2 separate regions of the Homo sapiens genome follow, and region 2 is linked to region 1. The links are contacts of gene promoters, found by promoter capture Hi-C in blood cells and fetal thymus (Javierre and others, 2016). All regions are on one chromosome and are shown on one strand. The core of a region is centred on a gene start or on the middle of the fragment in contact, and the rest is flanking DNA. Distances in the headings are between cores, read along the strand shown.

Evidence for each region. The method cuts DNA at HindIII sites, captures the fragments that hold promoters and counts their contacts. A CHiCAGO score of 5 or more calls a contact.
Region 2: a fragment that was not itself captured here is called in contact with the fragment with the promoter of HLF in region 1 in 1 of 17 cell types (total CD4 T cells); the score reaches 5.2 in total CD4 T cells.

What each region holds. Positions count from the first base shown.
Region 1 is chr17:55,261,899-55,268,480 of GRCh38, forward strand. It overlaps HLF (HLF transcription factor, PAR bZIP family member), which reads left to right and starts at 3,062. Exons shown (of 4, transcript NM_002126.5): 1 at 3,062-3,701; 2 at 5,853-6,188. The coding sequence starts at 3,587. RefSeq lists a silencer at 2,866-3,185. The HindIII fragment of the contact is 7,530 bases long and covers 2,591-6,582 here.
Region 2 is chr17:55,145,747-55,152,782 of GRCh38, forward strand. The region is part of intron 17 of STXBP4 (syntaxin binding protein 4); the gene reads left to right. Among named protein-coding and RNA genes, the nearest start is that of HLF, 120 kb to the right of the region's middle. The HindIII fragment of the contact is 3,834 bases long and covers 2,543-6,376 here.

The DNA of each region.
Region 1 (6,582 bases), core at 1,812-4,311:
AATACAACAGATAAACTTTTGTATATTCATAGAGCGGAATACTACTCACTAATATAAAGAAATGAACTATATGCAACATTGGTGAATGTCTAAAATACTGTGCAGAGTGAAAGAAGCTACACACAAGAGAGTATATACAGTATGATTTCACTTGTATGAAATTATAAAACAAGCAAAATGAATCTATGGTGTAAGGAGGCCATGTAAAGAGAAAGAGAAGGCCAGCCAGCCCAGTATCCCAGCTGAGCCTAACCTAGATTGCAGAATAATGAGAAATAATAAAATGATTGTTGTTTTAAGCCACTAGGTTTTGGAGTGATCTGTTACACAGCAATCAATAATCAGCATCATTGCTTTCCTCATGGAATTGTCAGAAGTATGTGATATGACACATATGGAAGGGCTCTGTAAGTGGACAAGTGCTAAGCACTTGTGAGCGGCAGTTATCTCTGGGCATATGTGCAGATTGGGGTTAGTGCTCATTAGGGATATGTCCATTTGAGAATTAACCTGTGGAATTCAGAGGGTCTTACTACCCAACCAATATAACCTTTGGTTTCTTCTATCCCTCTCCTTCCTCTTGAGCAGCCATCCACAACTGCTTCTGGGGAAGAGAGAGAGAGAAAGAGAAAGAAAGATGTTCATGGTTTGTTAAAAAAATAAAAGAAAATAACATTTACAAATGGCCAGAGTAGAAAAGATGTACCAATTTCATTTATCTTGTTAAGGAATGGGGCTAGATTGAAGATTAGCCAATGCTTATAATTTTTGAGGCTCTAAGAAATACCTTTGAAGTTAGAGAAGGATGGAGAGAAGTGAGAGGGAGTCACCATGGTCTAAGGGGCTGGTCCTCAATCTGGTCCGTGACATGTTGATCAGGCTCAGGGAAATTAAATTAAATGAACCAAATTCCCAAGAAACTGCTTGATCAACCAGAACGCCAGTTTATCCACTTGCAATGAGAAATGCAATTTCCAAGCCACAGTATTTGGTTCTGTCAGGTGGTAAGGAGAAGATTACCCTGGGAAACCAGATTACTTGACCTGGTAAGAGTTTCATGTCTGGAAACATGGGGAAGTGAGGACATGCGGAGAATCATGAGCAGGTGGAGCACTTTGGGCGTGCTGAGTAATGTCAGTGGACTGTTACACAAAGCTTAGGTAACGCATCTTTCATGCACCTGGAATCTGCAATCTAACAGATTTCTAACCAGGCTGAGAGGATGCTCTCAGTCCTGCCAGTTTATGGACTTACAGGGATGTAAGGAACTCAAGACAGGGAAATAGCCTCTGTCTCCAAAAGGATAGCGGAGATGAGGTCCCTTTTTTATTTTTTAAAAAAACAATATAATATAATTGATGGATTCAGACCGTTCACGAGAGACTATTACCTCCACGCCCAGCTCAGGCACCTTCTCTAGAATCCCTTTCCTAATAATGTAAGTGCCCCTGTCACCTCCATCTATCCATTTTTGTTCTTTTAAGCCTATTTTATATTATTTGCTTATATGCCAAACCCTAAACGATGAGTTCTTGAAGGTTAAAATTATGTTTTATTCATCTTTTTTCACTAGCCCCCGCATAGTCGCTGGCATACATACCGTGGTGCTCAATAAATGCATGTGGCATTAACTAAAAGTTTGCTGTTTCTGGAATTCGTCTGAAACCTGAAACACTGCAACAACATCTCACTTAGAATGTTGCCTTACCCTTTTGCCATAATTTTAGAGTGAGGAAGTAGAGGTCACTAGATTACGTGTCCTTTTATGAAGAACCTACAGCTCAGGGCAGAAAGGCACTTGCCGGAATCACCCTGCCAGGGAACTCTGAACCCCGCTGCGCCGCCGCTCCTGATCTCTGGGGTTTCAGGCGCCTCCTCTCTTACAACCCTCTCCTGGGGAAGTAAACCCCATCAAGACACCACCACATCCTTCCCCAGCGACTCAGCCTGGGGTCACAAAGGCCTTTACGTCCCACTGAAAAACGGTTTTCTTTCATTTGTGCCCATTCGTTCTTGCAGCCCCTTCCCCAGATCGAAGACTAGGGTCTTAGTAAGGAGAGGTAAGGAGGGAGGGGAAGAACCTGCCTGGCCCCCCGCGGAGCTCTGCAGGGGGCGTCGCGGCTGCACGCCAGCGCCCGCACCACCCCAGGCGGGAAGGGAGTTATCACACAGGGGGTCGCACGCAGATCTCGGGGACCGTGGGTGCCACGAGGTCAAACTGGCAGAGGGAGACGCTGCAGCTGCTGTAACAGCAAGGAAAGCCGAAGCCCCCTTAGGGGATACTTTACAAAATTATTTTAATCACCGTGCAAACCTAATAACTTGACCCAAGCGCAATCACCTGTATTCACCCAGAGTAAATATTCCTAAAATCCCGTTCAGTGTGTCTGTGTCTCTCCCGCCTCTTTCCGTTTCAGGCAAATGTCTACCCCCCCTCTCCCCCCACCGTTAACACCTCTCTGCAGCGTGGGAAACAGTGCCCAGCAGCTCAGTCCTCCGCTTCCCGCTCTGCTTTTTGCATCCCATTCGGACTTATAGGAAGTAGTTATTTTTTGGTGGTGGTGGAAACTGGGCAAGAAAGAAGACGCTAAGCTTGGCCGGGGCCAGGAGAAATATTGAGAAGGGTCGTTACCTTCCATCCGATCTAAACCAATCATCTCAAACTTGGCTACTCTTTGGAACCACCTGGGGAGCTTTAAAAATTATGGACGCCCTGATAGCACCGCAGAGGTTCTGATCTAATTGATCTGGGATGCGGCCTGGGTATCGCGATTTTTTTAAAACTCCTCAGGTTATTCCCAGCTTGAAAACTATGGATATAAATTTCTCATTCCTCTTCCCACCCAGACCAAAAAAAAAAAAAAAAATCTAAGCCTAAGTTGATGGCCCAGGGAATCTGGCACCTGCTCCCCTGCAACCAGCCAGTGCTGCAAGGTCCCCGAAAATCGGCGCGAGCGGCGACGCTAAACACGCGGCGGCGGGGCGAGCGGGCCAGGCGGGCGGTGCCGCGCGTGGCCCCGCCCCCGCACGCCTATGGGCGCGAGGTGCGGGCCCTGACGTCACTCTTGTCAGGGCCGCGGCACATGGGCGGCCGGATGCGCTGAGCCCGGCGCTGCGGGGCCGCGGAGCGCTGGGGAGCAGCGGCCGCCGGCGCGGGGAGGGGGGTGGGGTGGGACGGCGCACCGCCTCCGGTGCTGGCACTAGGGGCTGGGGTCGGCGCGGTGTCTTCTGCCCTTCTGCAGCCGTCGACATTTTTTTTTCTTTCTTTTTTTCAATTTTGAACATTTTGCAAAACGAGGGGTTCGAGGCAGGTGAGAGCATCCTGCACGTCGCCGGGGAGCCCGCGGGCACTTGGCGCGCTCTCCTGGGACCGTCTGCACTGGAAACCCGAAAGTTTTTTTTTAATATATATTTTTATGCAGATGTATTTATAAAGATATAAGTAATTTTTTTCTTCCCTTTTCTCCACCGCCTTGAGAGCGAGTACTTTTGGCAAAGGACGGAGGAAAAGCTCAGCAACATTTTAGGGGGCGGTTGTTTCTTTCTTATTTCTTTTTTTAAGGGGAAAAAATTTGAGTGCATCGCGATGGAGAAAATGTCCCGACCGCTCCCCCTGAATCCCACCTTTATCCCGCCTCCCTACGGCGTGCTCAGGTCCCTGCTGGAGAACCCGCTGAAGCTCCCCCTTCACCACGAAGACGGTGAGCGCTGCCGCGGCCCCGCTCCGGGAAGGGACGACGCTCCGGGGGTCCCCCTCCGCGGCCGGGCACGCCCGCTGGAGCATCCCCCAACCCCGCTCCCGCCCTGTCCCGCGGCGCCCCGGCCCCGCGCTGATGAAATTGAGGAGCTCACCCAGCACCCTTCCTCCCCTTCCTCCTCCTCCATGAAAGGGGAGGGACCCCTCCTGAGCTACATTTAAAAGAGCTTCGGGCACCCGGCCTCCCTGGGTCCCGCTCCTGCGGCGCGGGTGGGAGGTGTAACTTGACAGGTCAGGATCGTTCCCTAGAACGAGGCACACCCGCACGCAGAGCGAGCCCGCCTGCGGAGGGCAGAGCCTCCCGGGCTGGGGAGGAGAAACCCTGGGGCCTGGTTCTGTGCGGGGCAGGGGGCGGGGGTCGGCTTGAGGGAGGGGGTTTCACTGCGTAGCCTGGGTTTTGGGGTTGTGTTACAGCTTCTGTTACTGGTTAGTATTTGGAACTCACGAGGTGTGAGAGAAGACTCGTTTTCTTCTGGTGAAGGGTAGCTGAGAAAGCGGGGTGGGGGCTGGGGCCGGTGGGGGGAGTGGTCTCTCGGCGGGAAGCCGTGCACGCCTCCAGCGTTGACACTTTCCCGGTGCACTTTTTCTGGTGGGAGGGGAGAGCGGAGCAGGCTCACGTGTAACCGCGCAGGAGCCTCCTCTGGCTTGAGCCCTTTCTTGGTAAGTCCCAAACCTTCCCAAGACAACCTTGGCCTTAGCAGTAGAGGAGGGGTACGTGTGATGAGGCCCCAAACCCGGCTAAGTGATGCCACGGATTTGGGTTGATGCGATTTCATGCCTTCGGTATCACAGTAGCAAATGCGAACCGTGCGGCTCACAGTGTAAAGTTCTGAAAGGTTATTTGGCTACAAATAGCTTGGGAGTACTTGCACCTTCTTTTCTAGGAGAGGACAACCTGTTGCATTGCAAGAGTTTGCAATCTGCAGATGATAGCCAGGGACCCCTCCCTAACTATCCTTTAAGGAAGAGCATTTGGGAGGAAGGGGCTGCCTGCAGGCTTTTGCATCTGTGGGTGTTTTAAGTCAGATTTTCAGATGAGATGGTAGAGGGTTAGAATGGATGGCAGTGGAGGCTGTGTTTCTCTGAAGATGAAACTCAGAAGCAAATTCCTTAATCCCAGATTCCACCCACGACTGAATACTAGAATTGGCAAGATCCGGAATGCTTGTTAAAGACCTAATGGGCGAGCAGTACTTCCAGGTAGCAAATAGCTGCATACTTCCAACATAAATGTATAGAATAACTCACCTTTTCCAATAGCTCTGCTTTTGAAAGGTTTTGTAAATGCATACTCTTTGTAAATTGGATCATACTCAAATGTTTGGAGAAGAGAAGGAAGAAAACACTTTGTATTTTTTTAAACTCCTTTTGTAAAAATCAGTGTGCCCCAGTGGCTTTAGAAGCAAACACATGTGAGCTCAGAAAGTTCTCATTCTCTGCCAACATGAGGCATTGGTCAAGTTCCCTCAAGTCTCAGAGCCTCCGAGTCTTTGTTGTAAATGGAGGTAATTGTTATTTTGCAAGTTTATTGTGAGATTTTTGAGATAATATATGGAAAGAACCAGGTATCCAGTAGGTACTCTAAACATGATGTTAAAGAAGGGTGGAAGGTCCCTGCTTTACCAAAATTAAGACCACTAACTCACTGGCTTTGTAAGTCTGAATGACCTCCTATTGCTGCTGTGATGAATTCCTGGAAGATAATTCAAGCCTGGTTATTGGCTGTTGTTTTCTTAAAAATGACAGCAGTTGTATATAATCACAGATGTTATATTCCTATTTTAGGTTTAAGTTATTACTCTTCTCAAATAATGTGCTGAGACTGTTCTCTGGTTTTTATCCTAGATCAGCCTGTAGCCCTGCCCCAAGGACTAGTGCCTTCTTTCCAAAGTAAATAGGAAGATGTTGAAAAACAGGCAGAGATCCACGTCCTGCCTGAACTTTTAACTCTAGATCTACAAAAGACAGCAGCCAGAGAAGGACCCTGCCATTCGTGAGAAATAGTCTTATAACAGGCCAGGAAAAGTGATAAAAGAGCGGTATTGTTTTTCTTTTCTTTCTTTTTTTTTAAGTCCAGCTTTCCCTTCTTCTGCAGCATTTAGTAAAGATAAAGACAAGGAAAAGAAGCTGGATGATGAGAGTAACAGCCCGACGGTCCCCCAGTCGGCATTCCTGGGGCCTACCTTATGGGACAAAACCCTTCCCTATGACGGAGATACTTTCCAGTTGGAATACATGGACCTGGAGGAGTTTTTGTCAGAAAATGGCATTCCCCCCAGCCCATCTCAGCATGACCACAGCCCTCACCCTCCTGGGCTGCAGCCAGCTTCCTCGGCTGCCCCCTCGGTCATGGACCTCAGCAGCCGGGCCTCTGCACCCCTTCACCCTGGCATCCCATCTCCGAACTGTATGCAGAGCCCCATCAGACCAGGTAAGTGCCCTGAAGATTCTCCCTTCAGAAAGGGAGGAGGAGGGTGAATGGGACAGGCAAGGTAGAGTTAGCATAAACATCTTAACACTCAGGTTTTAGCAAAGATCCTAAGAGAGGTACCTTCTTCTGCTCCACTCCTGGCAGAGGCTCTCCCACTTTAATGAGCATCCATATCACTCATCTGGAGAGTCCGGTAAATACAGACTCTTTGTATCTACCCCTAGAAATTCTGATTTTGCAAGTCTGGAATGAGGGCCCAGGAATATGCATTTTAACCAGCTCCCCCATGGGATTCTAATGCAGCTGATCCAAGGGCTGCAGTTTAAGAAATAACTTACAGTTAATGATTTGGATAATTTAAGCCTCCATCGCATCTTGTATCTCTTTTCCTCAT
Region 2 (7,036 bases), core at 3,210-5,709, 110 kb before region 1:
GTGTACCAATGTATATATGCATATATGCAGGTGAGCAGAGCTTGCTCACTTGCCTCATATATGTGTAAAAAAGAAAATACATTATTTATTAGTTTTAAAAAGTATTTGTGCATTCTAGGAAATTTTTTCTTATTTTCTCCTTAGAGAGAGAGTTGCAACATTCTTAAATTTAATAACAAACCATCCATGATCTTGAGAGTGCTATAATGAAATTAACTGATTAACTTGATCCATTTTTCTACCCAACTTCTTATCTTTTTCCCTTTGAAGTTGTATACTGTTACAGATTTATAGTAGTCTTTGGTATGATTCCACTTAAAAGTTCACATGCTTTATACATATGTTATATAATATAACAAAATTATTATGAGAGTTATCAAGTTTGTAGTAAAACTGAATTTATGACAAATTAGACATAGCTGCTAATTGCTTTTTTGTATCCTTTTATCTTTCTGTTGATTCAGATTTACTGTGATTATCATACTTATATTAACTCTATATCTGCATAATAAATTTCTCCAAAATTTTAGCTTAAACCAATATGTATTTTCTTACTCAATTTTAGAGCATCCTGAATCCAGGAGTGGCTTCACTGGATTACTCTCTCACTTTCTCTCTGGGTCTCTCATGAAGTTGTAGTCACTCTGTTAGCTAGGGCTGGGACTTCAAGAGTGGCTTAGTGAGGCCGGGCGTGGTGGCTGACGCCTGTAATCCCAGCACTTTGGGAGGCCAAGGCAGGCGGATCACGAGGTCAGGAGATTGAGACCATCCTGGCTAACACGGTGAAACCCTGTCTCTACTAAAAAAAATACAAAAAAACATTAGCCAGGCATGGTGGCTGGTGCCTGTAGTCCCAGCTACTCTGGAGGCTGAGGCAGGAGAATGTTGTGTACCCGGGAGGCGGAGTTTGCAGTGAGCCAAGATCACACCATTGCACTCCAGCCTGGGCCACAGAGCGAGACTCCGTCTCAAAAAAAAAGAAAAAAAAAAAAGAGTGGCTTAGTGAGCTGGCTGGAGTATTTGGTCCAAGCTCACTCATGAGGTTATTGGCAGGAGGCTTCACTTCCTCACCATATCATGAACACATAGAGCTACTCACAATATGGCAGCTGTCTTCCTTGAAGTAAGGGACAAAAAGGACAGAGAGGGAGAAAGACAAAAGCTACAGTGTCTTTTATAACCAATGTCAGATGACTGATCTACCATCACTTCTGCTATGTGACCAACCCTGGTTCAGTGTAAGAGGCGCCTACCTAAAAGTATGAATTCCAGAAGGTAGGGATCATTGGGAACCATCTTAGAGCATGCCTAGCAGATGCCACTTCACAGTGTATGTAAAATATATGTTTCATATGACTTATATAAATAATACAAAATTGTCTCTGTCCATTACTTGCTTTGAATATTCAATTATACCAGCAGTTCCCAACCTTTTTGGCACGAGGAACCCATTTTGTAGAAGATAATTTTTTCATGGACCAGGGGGTAGGGGGACGGTTTCAGGATGAAACTGTTCTACCTCAGTCATCAGGCATTAGATTCTCATAAGGAGCACGCAACCTCAATCCTTTGCATGTGCAGTTCACAATGGGGTTTGCAATCCTAATGCCACCACTGATCTGACAAGAGGCAGAGCTCAGGCAGTAGTACTCGCTTGCCCGGAACTCACCTCCTGCTGTGCAGCTGAGCTCCTAACAGGTCATGTACCACTACGAGTCCATGGCCCGGGGGTTGAGGACCCCTGAATTATACTGTTGGTGATTTTTCAAATACATGTAATCACTTGCTTTTAAGTTACTTAAATTTGGCTTGTAATTCTCCATGCATTCATTTGGATTGATATGCCTTTATATCAGATCCTAAAATCTGATATATTGTTCCTCGTATTACAAATTCTATTCTTTATCACATAGGCAGTATTATTCTTAGAACATTACAAATGCGTATCAGTAGAACCTAGAAAGTCTATGTATTTGAATAAAACAAAAGTTTCTGTGTAGAACAGGGAAGGGAAATAGATTTTAACTCATGCCATCTCTGTCTGTTGATAATAGCTGTCTCAAGTATTATTTTGAGAAGAATTCTGAGGACATATTCAACTTCACTGATGTATGCCTTGATCAACTGGAGATGTCTGCCATGGGTTTAGAGGGAGAAGTGGTGTGTAGGACACATGCCACATCTTTGCAATCTTTTTCTTCTAGAGTGTATTGCTAGCACATGACAGGAACTCTGCCATGATGAACAGTAATGATGCAACTATTAGGTTGGAATAACAAAATAAACAATGAGAACACCCCTACCCCAAATTTCTTACAAGATGTTCAGTATGTGAGAGCTTTGTTTTTATGACTCTACAGCATAACTAAGTTCTAATACGCATGGTTTCTCTCATTTCTCTCCAGTCAGAATTCATTAATGCCCTAAAATGATTGTCTATACTTGGGTTAAGACAGCCAGTTAGTTTGTTTGCAAGTAGGGAAGAATGGCTCATAATCTATAAGTGAATAAATTTTATTGTTTGCCTATTGTATTAGTTAAAAGCTTCAGTTACATTGTGTCATCTCATTTATAAACAAAGGAAAACACAAAAGACAAGAATTTTAAATTATCGTTTCTTAGGCCCTAACTTTATTTGCTAAGTAGAGCCTAGCTTAGGTAAATCTAATGCAATTAGAAATTAGGGAGATTGGAAAGGGGAAGATGGAAAGGAAGGAATGGTTTCTGAATTAGAAATTTAAAGGGTACTACTTTTAGCTTTTTCTAAATCCTTTACAATTATTTTAGCTTTTTTTTTTTTTCTTTTTTTTGAGACGAAGTCTCGCTCTGTCACCCAGGCTGGAGTGCAGTGACACAGTCTCGGCTCAGTGCAACCTCCACCTCCCAGGTTCAAGTGATTCTGCCACCTCAGCTTCCCGAGTAGCTGGGATTACAGGCACCAGCCATCACACCTGGCTAATTTTTGTATTTTTAGTAGAGGCGGGGCCATGTTGGCTAGACTGGTCTTGAAATCCTGACCTCAGGTGATCTGCCCGCCTCAGCCTCCCAAAGTGCTGGGATTACAGGCGTGAGCAAGCACCTAGCTTATTTTGGCTTTTAGTGGACACTGTCTAACACCCTCCTTCTAAAGATCTCATTAATTTGGGGGCTTTGATTCATTTTCTGTGAATGAGGAAATGTCTACTGACAAATTAGTAAGATCTAAGGCTCACTGGATGAGGTGTCAGGGCAATTTCTATGCAACTTCAGACTAGATAAGGAGAATATGTGTAGGCTCCTCACTCTCTTTTACATGTATAAGAATTCTGGGCATTTTATTCTTAATGAGGCTACAATGAAGAAACCAACAGAGGACTTAAAAGATGAAATATGGACCTTTTTAAATATTTTGCCCCCAAATACTTCTTAGCTATGAATGAGTTGTAAGGTATTGAAATTACTAGATTGCACTTTAAAGCTGTAACCATCCATGTGACAACTGGTTTGGAATATTCATTACCTAGCACAGGGCCTGGTATTTGTAGGGATGATAAATATTTATCGAATGAATATTGTTGTTGGCAGTCTGCGGAAGCAATTGATGGGGAAAAAAATAAGGGCTTTAGTATCAGACAGAGCTAGCTTCTAATGTTTATGCAACCACTTTTAAGTGTGACCTTGGTAGTGGTAAGTTATTTCAATACTCTCTACCCTCTATTCTTGTACAAAAACAAGGATAATAATTTCTATCTATCTCCCCAGATTGTTTTGAGAATTGAATGAAATTTGGGGTAAAAAGCACCTAGCAAAATACCTTGCACATAATGAGTGCTTAACAGCTGTTAGTTACCCCTCCCCTTCCTTATTTTATACTATTGCTATTTGCCAATGGAGGAGTTTAAAATGACAGTATTTACACAACTGCAGATGGAAACCAGTAGCCAAAACCTACACCTGTGCCACTCTCTGGCCAGTCAAAAGCCCTGTGATAGGAGCAGAGACATTGCATTGATCATGAGCCTGAGACAGCTTGCTCAGGATTTTCTGTAAATACCTACAAAGATATGTAGGAATATGAAGTACTGTGTGAGAAATTGTCATGAAATGAAAGACCAGGCAGCTGGCTTGGGTTATTCAGAATGGCAAAGCCCACTAAAATAAAAAGAACATCCAGACCTAAATATTCAGCATCAAAGCCCCTTTTCCCCCTCATTTAACCAATGACAGGTATAACACAGGCATGAGGCATGTTTTTTCACATTTCATTGAGATATTAAAATAAATTATTTGGGGTTTCATAAAGTACTTTGAAAACTCGTAACCTTTCTGAGGGTTAATACTTCTATTTGAAAGGTGTATAATTGTCTTTGCTGCCAGGACCCTTTATTTAGATTTACTAACAAATACTTTTTGTCAAACTCTTTCCCTTCCAAATTTGGTTGCTGTATTAGTCTGCTAGGGCTGCCGTAACAAACCACCACAGACATGGCTTAAACAACAGAAATTTATTTTCTCACAGAAGTCCCAAGATCAGGGCGCCATCAGGGTTGGTTTCTGGTGAGACTCTCTTCCTGGCTTCTAGATGCCTACCTCTGGCTGTGTCCTCATCTGGCCTCTTCTCTTTGTACACAGAGAGAGAGATATCTCTGGTGTCTCTTCTTACAAAGACACCAGTTCCATCAGACCAGTGTCCTGCCAACCCTACAACCTCATCTAACCCTAATTATCTCCATGGAGATCCAGTCTCCAAATACAGCCACGCTGGGGTTTGGAGATTCAACATATGAATTTAGGAGGGACATAGTTCAGTCCATATAGTAGCTTCTCCCAAAAATTACATTTCATAAGGTCCCTAGCAACTTTTTTCTTCATTCTGTAGATTATATTCATTATAGTGTCATACATATATGTATTATTTTTCATGCTAAACGTTTAGCAAGTTTTAGGCAAATTGCAAGAGTTGATCCCAATCGGTGCATTTTCCATTAGGCCCTAGTCTTAGGGGAAGAAGCAGCTTAAGGGAAGAAGAGAAGGGTAGGCAGAATAATGGCCCTCAAAAATGTTCACATCTTATTCCCCAGCACCTGTAAGTGTGAATATACTAGGTCACATGGTAAAGGAGCATTAAAGTTGCAGGTAGAATTAAGGTTGCTAATCAACTAACCTTAAAATAGGGAGCTAATTCTGGATTATCCAAATGGGTCCAATCACGTGACTCCTTAACAGTAGAAGAGGGAGGCAGAAAAAGAGAGTCAGAAAGAGATATGACAGTGGAAGCAGAATTTAGGATATGTTATGTTGCTGGCTTTGAATTTGGGAGCCATAAGCCAAGGAATGTGAGTGGCCTGGAAAAGCAAAGAAACAAATTCTCCTCTAGAGCCTCCAGAACAATAAGACCTGTGTGGGACTTCTGAATTACACAACTATAAGATAGTAAATTTGTGTTGTTTTAGGCCATTAAATTTGTGGAAATTTGTTACTGCAGTAGCAAATGATTACAGGGAGTTAGAAGTAGAGTGGGGAGGGTAGTGGTCCCACTACTGTGTGACCTTGGATGGGGCTTTGATACTCTGAGCCTCAGTTTCATCAATTGTAAAAACTGTAGAGAAAAATAAGGTCTGTGAGATTTATATGAAAAGCAAATTGGGAAATTGGTATCAAAGAATGTTGTAAAGTACAAAATGCTTTCCTGATGTAAAGTCTTACCCAGCTGCCACATACCTGAACATCTGTATCAAATGAATGATCTCAATATTAACAGGGCCAGAGGTCTTCTTTGATCATGCCTGCACTTTGTTACTTAGCACTGGTATTAAGCAGGTACCTCTGTGAAAATCTCCATCCCTCTGTTGGGTATCTGGTGCCTAGAAACATGGCTTTGGCTGCATTCTCATCATTTCAAAGACTAAAAATTCCAGTGTGGTAAAATCACTTCTACGGTTTAGGGACCGAAGGGAAGCGTGAGCTGTTAGCCAGGCCACTTACCATCATATTTATTTGTCTTTAGTAAAGTTTTATACTCTAATAGTTAAAACAAGATTTGCTTAGCTAAAAATAGTATTTGCTTGATGTAAATAATTTTAACAAAACCTGGGATTTGAGTAGGTTGACATATAACTCCAGCTGTATAGAAAATAAACTAGTCAAAATGGTCTGAATTATCACAGTGATTCAACTGTTACATACAACCAAATGTATGAGTAGACCTTTGGAAGTTACTTGGATATGAGAATATTGGTGAGAAGGACTAGTAGTGTTAGTTATTTGGTGACTTTGGAGCTATTTAAATCTTATTTTAATAATGATCAATTTATTTATGCATATTTTCAATAATTTAGGACAGTACACTGGATTACCAAGTCGGAAGATTGTTTTGTCTGATCCTCCATTATAAGTAAGCTTGTCTACCACTTTTGAGTATTTTTACCCAGTGATATGACAATAGTAATGTATCAGTGAAATGTATCCATGCATCAAATATTTATGGACCCCCCTTTCTGTGAGCCTGACACTGGGGCTATAAAGATGAGTAGGACACTTCCCTACCCTCCAGAAACTAACAGCCTATTAGACAAAAATAGATATATGAAGAATTTGTTGCTACATGATGTAAAAAATATGACTGCTGGCACAAAGCCTCTGACTCAGGCTTCATACAAGTACTTTTTATTCATGGTCATCCAGATAACAATTCTTATGCATTTCGTGGTATGTTAGTTTGTTTTCACACTGCTATAAAGATATCACCTGAGACTGGGTAATTTATAAACAAAGGAGCTTTAACTGACTCACAGTTCCACGTGGCTGGGGAGGCCTCCCGCAACTTACAATCATGGCAGAAGGGGAAGCAGGCACCTTCTTCACAAGGCAGCAGGAGTGAGAAGTGCAACCAGAGGAAATGCCAGACGCTTATTAAACCATCTGATCTTGTAAGAACTCAGTATCACAAGAACAGCATGAAAGAAACTGTCCCCATCATCCAATCACCTCCCTCCCTTGATACTGGGGATTACAGGTCCCTCCCTTGACACATGGAGATTACAATTCAAGATGAGAT